2 separate regions of the Homo sapiens genome follow, and region 2 is linked to region 1. Evidence: promoter capture Hi-C in human tissues and cell types (Jung and others, 2019). All regions are on one chromosome and are shown on one strand. Each heading gives the region's core, a stretch centred on a gene start or on the middle of the fragment in contact. The rest is flanking DNA. Distances are from core to core; before and after follow the strand shown.

Region 1 (3,055 bases), core at 199-2,698:
TTCAAAATCACCCATCTGAGAGTCAATAACATTAACAAGGCCTGTGCCCATCCCCACCATCAATCTAGACTACTTTCCTGAGTGGCTCAATTTTAAAGTAGACTAAAGCTCCAAATAATGGGAAGAATTTGTGTTTTTTTTAAATTGACATCTCTTGTATGTGAAAGAACGTCACTTCGTGTTCTTATCCCCAGAGGCAGAGTCTTTATTTTGCCAAGTATAAACATTCGCAATGAAAGAACTCAGACCAACCTGAGAACCTCACGTGGATCAGAGAGCTGTGAGAAATCACACAGATTTTACAGCACATCAAGCTTACAGTGTTGGTTAATTCCAATTTTTAATCAGTTCCTCATAATTAGAAAATATATGGGCTTCTTGTGCCAATCCTTGTATTAAAGGGAGTAATAATTGACATGTAAATAATGCTAGCACTTTGTAGATGGTGTGAGTATAATTGATATGGGTAGTGAATCAACTGTGGGGGTATTGGTTGACAAGATGAAGAACAAGATTTATGGGGTAATTAAGTTTTCATTTTAGTATGCAGACATTTTCCCATCCATGACGTTGCCTATGTAAAGATCAATTCAGTTTAAAAGGAGAAGAAATCAAACCAGTTACCTTGACAACACCATGAAAGAGAACTATCCATTGTGCTGAAGAGCAAGTCGTTGGTTCTCAATGTCTGGTCCCTGGAACAGGTGCATCAGCATTATCTGAGAACTTGCTACAAATGCAAATTCTTGGTCTTACCATTGATGTACTGAATGAGAAATTCTGGGCTGGGAACAGAAGTCTGCCTTTTAACAAGGCCTTCAGGTAATTCTCTCAAGGGTAGGTGTCACTGGTCTAAGAAAGAAATTCTCCTAAAACTCTCAGAGTCTCCTTTTTTTTGAAGACCCTCTTGTCCTTTTGGATCTTGGCCTGAATATTACCCATTCCTCAAATCTCTAAAATTTTCAATGTGCTTGGTACTTTGGGCCCCCCAAGGAAGACCTCTCAAAGAGTGTGTGCTTTTGAGACATTTAGAAACTTTTTAACAACTCCCATTGCTCCCTTGGCCCCAGTGATAATCAGCCCAGCTCAGCTTCCTGAGCCCTGTCCAATAGTTTCTCCCAAAGGATATTCCCCCTTCCCCTGGGGTCTCACCCATGGTATTATTCATGAAGTAAGGGCAGGAGCTAAGAAACTGTGAGGCTGAAGCAAAGGATCTCCAAGAAGATGTACACTGAAGCCCCATTCTGGGCTAAAGGGAGGTGAGAGACCAGTGTTTCCTCAGCTGCACAGAGATCAGCTGTAAGAAAGATCTTGCAACACCTGCTAGAGGGTGGGAGTAATAAGCAAGTGACATAGACCTGACGATAGTAAGTCTAAAGGATGAGCAGAGACTCAAGAAAAACTGCAAGGGGAATGTGATGTTGAAAACGGATGCCTCCGATTACATAGGAAAACAACAAAGCACAGAATTCGCCCTATGAGACTTAGAGGGAGGATGCTCACAGCAAAGGACATCAACGGTGAGGAAAATCACAAGATTCTCGACATTGTCACATAAAACAAAGTCACATTTACCTGCTAATATATTAAGTTGGCAAACATTTCTGAGCAAGTGCTAAATCAGAGATGCTGTCATAGACTCTGGGCTTACTAAGTTATTGAATTTACAATCTAGTTAAGAGAAGCAATAGAAAAAATGATAAATGCTATAATGGAGGTATTTATCAAATGCTATTGGAACACAGAGAAATAAGGAATTAATTCTGCATGAGAGAAATGGGGGGAGGAGTCAAAGGGAAAGTGATATTTCTCTTATCGCCTCTAGGTTGAGAAGGTAGCAAAAGGCATTTCAGGAAACAGGATTTATTACCAAAGATATGAAAATAATGAAATATACTGCCTACATGGAAGCTATGAGTTCTTTGAACAGCAATCAGTTCCCAGGTGACAGTGATACTGATTAGAAAGGTATAGGGAGGCTATTTTTTATAGTCTTGTATGAAATGCTGAGAGAGAGTTGCATGCACGTATGTAGGTATGTTTTTCCACCCTCAGTTTATCCACAGAGCATTTTAGGTGGCTTCTGAGAGTTTGAGTTTTAAGCTGTGAGCAAATCAAATATTATAACAATGAGGAATATGATCACATCTGAGTCAGAGGGGTCTCATGGACAGCTGTGTAGAAGGTGTCCTGGAGTGAGGCCAGGCGCGGTGGCTCATGCCTGTAATCCCAGCACTTTGGGAGGCGGAAGCGGGCGGATCACGAGGTCAGGAGATCGAGACCATCCTGCTAACACAGTGAAACCGTGTTACAAAAAAAATTAGCCGGGCGAGGTGGTGGGCGCCTGTAGTTCCAGCTACGCGGGAGGCTGAGGTAAAAGAATGGCGTGAACCCGGGAGGCGGAGCTTGCAGTGAGTGAGCCGAGATCGCGCCACTCCAGCCTGGGCGACAGCGAGACTCCGTCACAAAAAAAAAAAAAAAAAAAAAAAGAAGGTGTCCTGGAGTGGAAGTAAACTGAAGGAGCAGAATAAGATTAGAATGACCTATAATATTGTAGATAATAGATTGCAATAGGCCAGGTAAGAGAGGGTAAGAGAGATTGAGACAGGGCAGGGGGAGGGGGGAGACCACTGACCCCCTCCCCTGTCACCCTCCATCTTCTTCTTCTTTTTTTTTTGTTTTTGATTTTTTGAGACAGAGTCTCGCTCTGTCACCCAGGCTGGAGTGCAGTGGCATGACCTCCACTCACTGCAGCCTCCAACCAGCTTCAAGCGATTCTCCTGCCTCAGCCTCCCAAGTAGCTGAGATTACAGGTGTGTGCCACCACGCCCGGCTAATTTTTTTGTATTTTTAGTACAGATCCGGAGTTTCACCATGTTGGCCAGGCTGGTCTCAAACTTCTGACTTCAAGTGATCCATCCGCCTCCGCCTCCCAAATTTCTGGGACTACAGGCGTGAGCCACCTCTCCCGGCTCCTCCATCTTCTTCTGTCCCTTTAGTCCCGTTTTCTCCACCTCCCCAGCACTTTTCCACTTCCTTTACCTTCACTTGCTCT
Region 2 (3,055 bases), core at 247-2,746, 390 kb before region 1:
GTTTTATGTGAATTATCTCATTCTGATTCTTTAGCTGAGGTACCTACAATTACTACTCCCATTTCATAGATGAGGAAAAGCAAGATTAAAGAGGCTGTGGAGTTTGATCAAGGTCACAAAACTGAAAAGTGATGGAACTAGCTCTCTTTGATGCCAAGACACATGTTCTCCTGCAAGAGAAAATATTCTACTTAACAAGATTTAACACACTGCCTTTTATCCCAGAGCAAATCAGATGAGTCATGTAAACCCACTGGCCTTTTTTCTGTACCTGGAAATGAGGGTATTTGAAGTATAACTTATATTAACAGATACGAAGGTAGAAAAATCATAGCTATCTAACAATCAGAAATAGAAAAAAAAAAGACAGTATACCTGCTTCATTGTACATTATCAGTCATTAAAAGTAAATTTCACAAAGAGTTTAACATTCAAGCGTGTTAATAATATCAAAATAATTGAATGAAGCAGGATATAAAAGTACATATTAGGCATTTTATTATTACAACTACTTAAAACATATCCAGAATGCTAAAGTATTTATAGGTGAAGGGTACTGATGTTCATTGCTTTGAAATGCACTAAAAATAAGATAATTGTAGAATCTAAGTAGTGGGTATGGAATGTTCACTTTATGTGTTTGAAAATTTTCAGAATAAAATGTTGAAAAATATGTGTAGAAAAAAAAGAGAGCGAAAGGAAAAACTTACGGATGTTAAGAACAGTCATCTTTGGCCAGGCATGGTGGTTCACGCCTGTAATCTCAGCACTTTGGGAGGCTGAGGCAGGTGGATCGCCTGAAGTCAGGAGTTTGAGACCAGCCTGGCCAACATAGTGAAAACCCGTCTCTAATAAAAACACACACACAAAAAAAAAAAAATTAGCCGGGCATGGTCGCACACGCCTTAGTCCCAGCTACTCTGCAGGCTGAGGCAGGAGAATCACTTGAACCCAGGAAGCAGAGGTTGCAGTGAGCCAAGATTGTGCCACTGCACTCCAGCCTGGGTGGCAGAGTGGACTTCATCTCAAAAAAAAAAAAAAAAAAAAAGAGCAGTCATCTTTATGTGATGGGATTATGGGTGATTATTTTTCCTCTTTCTAATCTTCTACTGTTTCAGTTACCTATTGTTATATCAAACCATCCCAACACATAGAGACTTAAAACTACATCCATTGATTATTTCTTATACTCCGTTTGTGAGTTGGTGACTTAAAACAACAGAACTATTTATTATTTCTCCTGATTCCATTTGCTAGCAGGGAGGTTCCTCAGCAGGTTTTGTTTGGGCTCAGGCAGTTGCTTTCAGCTGGAGAGTCAACTGGGGTGGGAGATCCAAGTCAACCTCCCTTACGCCGTTGGTAGTTGGTGCAGAATGATGGTGGGCCTTTCTCTCCATGTGGTCTTTCATCCCAGGCTTCTTCATGGATGTCTGTCTCAGGGCAATGTTCCTAGAGGAGAGCAAAGGTGGAAGCAGCAATGACTCATAAGCCCTAGCCTCAGAAGTTGCCTAGCTTTGCTTTCTGCCCCTTTCTATGTGGACAAAGCTGGTCTCAAAGCCAATGAAATTGCAAGGAGTAGACAAGCAGATGTCTCCTCTGGATGGGAGGAGTTGCAAAGCTGTATTGCAAAGGGTCATAATCCTGGATTGAAATGAATCTGGAGCCATAAAAAACCTACTACAACTACTGCGCTAGATGTTAAAATGGGATTCTTGTCTCAGTATTACTGAGACAAGACATTATTTCTACTGAAAGTAGAAAATAATGGGTGCAGAGTAAAGCAGGATGCTGGGCCAGCATGGCAGGGTCTCCAGTTCAGTCAGCACTCGAACATCATTGATTGTTTTAAGAGAAGGCTGTGAATGCATGAATCAGGATGAAGAGATTGAGAGTAAAGATTTCTTTAAAGAGGGAGAGAGTTAGTTGTTGAATACAAAGGCAGGGGCACTTAGAACCACTCAAAGGATTTGCTCTATGCCCCTAGAATTTGAAGGATGCAGGGATGCAACCTGACTCATGCTCCAAAATCAAAGACAGAGGGCCAGCTGGGATGGCCTGCATGGATGGGCAGCCAAGAGGCAGGGCAGGGGCAGGAAGCACTGCACTTGTTAGGTTTGGTGGTGCGAGGATACAGGTGCGCTTCCCGTGGACCAGACGTGGACTTCCCCTGAGAAAAATGCCTGCTTATAGGTCAGATATGGATCCCCTAGAAGTGAGTGCTCCCTGCTGGAGAAGTGAGGCGACCACAACAGAGGAGCTGACTGCTGTAAATTAGCGCTCTTATGGAGTCAGCTGGAGGAAGCACCGTCCAAGAAAATCCTCAGCCAGTGGGGAGATGGTGTCTCCAAAGAACCCTAAAGAGCACACACAGGAGAAACACACCCTCAGGATACCAGGTTACAACTGTTCCAGTCAACCAAGACTTTGCTTGCCCCCTAAGCCTCTCCCCCATCTTCCTCCCACACTGGCCCAGGTGGCAGAAGCCGACTACTGAGAGGGGGCGCGAGGAAGAAAACAGAGAAGAGGCAACTGCATACATGCCTGTGCCCACGGGCCAAGCTCAGCAAGGGGAGAAGTTATAAACTGCATGAGAGTTTGATATGAGACTGGGACTTGACATTTTATTACCTGAAGGAGCAAGACTCTTAATTAATACCTGGGAGTATCCAAAAAGCAAGAGAAAGAAAAAATGAATCCACAGAGCCAGTGTGCAGGGCAAGTCGGGGGAAGAGTAGAGTTGCTTTCTGTCTGCACCCCACCAAGCCAGCCCAACTCATTCATTTACCTGGTTACTTTATATTTTCCATTTTTTATATTAAACTGGCATGACTTATAGAGAGAATGAAAAATAAACTCTGTTTTTAAAAGGGAAGAAAAGAGCTTTGCACTCTACATTTCAGAGTTTTAAGATTGATGAGAAGGCGTCCTGACAAGAGTCTGGGTTGACCAGGAGAGGAAGGAAATGAGGCATACGCTTGGGAATTGGGAAGTAGGTTTCTTCAAGGTTTTGTGTCTAAATAAGTCTACAGACTTCAGCAAAAACAAGTTAAATAGC

The links. Contacts are between HindIII fragments. The study calls those that stand out against the background at their distance.
Region 2: a fragment that was not itself captured here is called in contact with the fragment with the promoter of OR4D2 in region 1 in 1 of the 25 tissues and cell types used here (spleen).

What each region holds. Positions count from the first base shown.
Region 1 is chr17:58,165,534-58,168,588 of GRCh38, forward strand. OR4D2 (olfactory receptor family 4 subfamily D member 2) reads left to right here and starts at 1,449. Exons shown (of 2, transcript NM_001004707.4): 1 at 1,449-1,520. The HindIII fragment of the contact is 7,868 bases long and covers 1-3,055 here.
Region 2 is chr17:57,770,748-57,773,802 of GRCh38, forward strand. No RefSeq gene overlaps it. Among named protein-coding and RNA genes, the nearest start is that of CCDC182, 27 kb to the left of the region's middle. The HindIII fragment of the contact is 9,168 bases long and covers 1-3,055 here.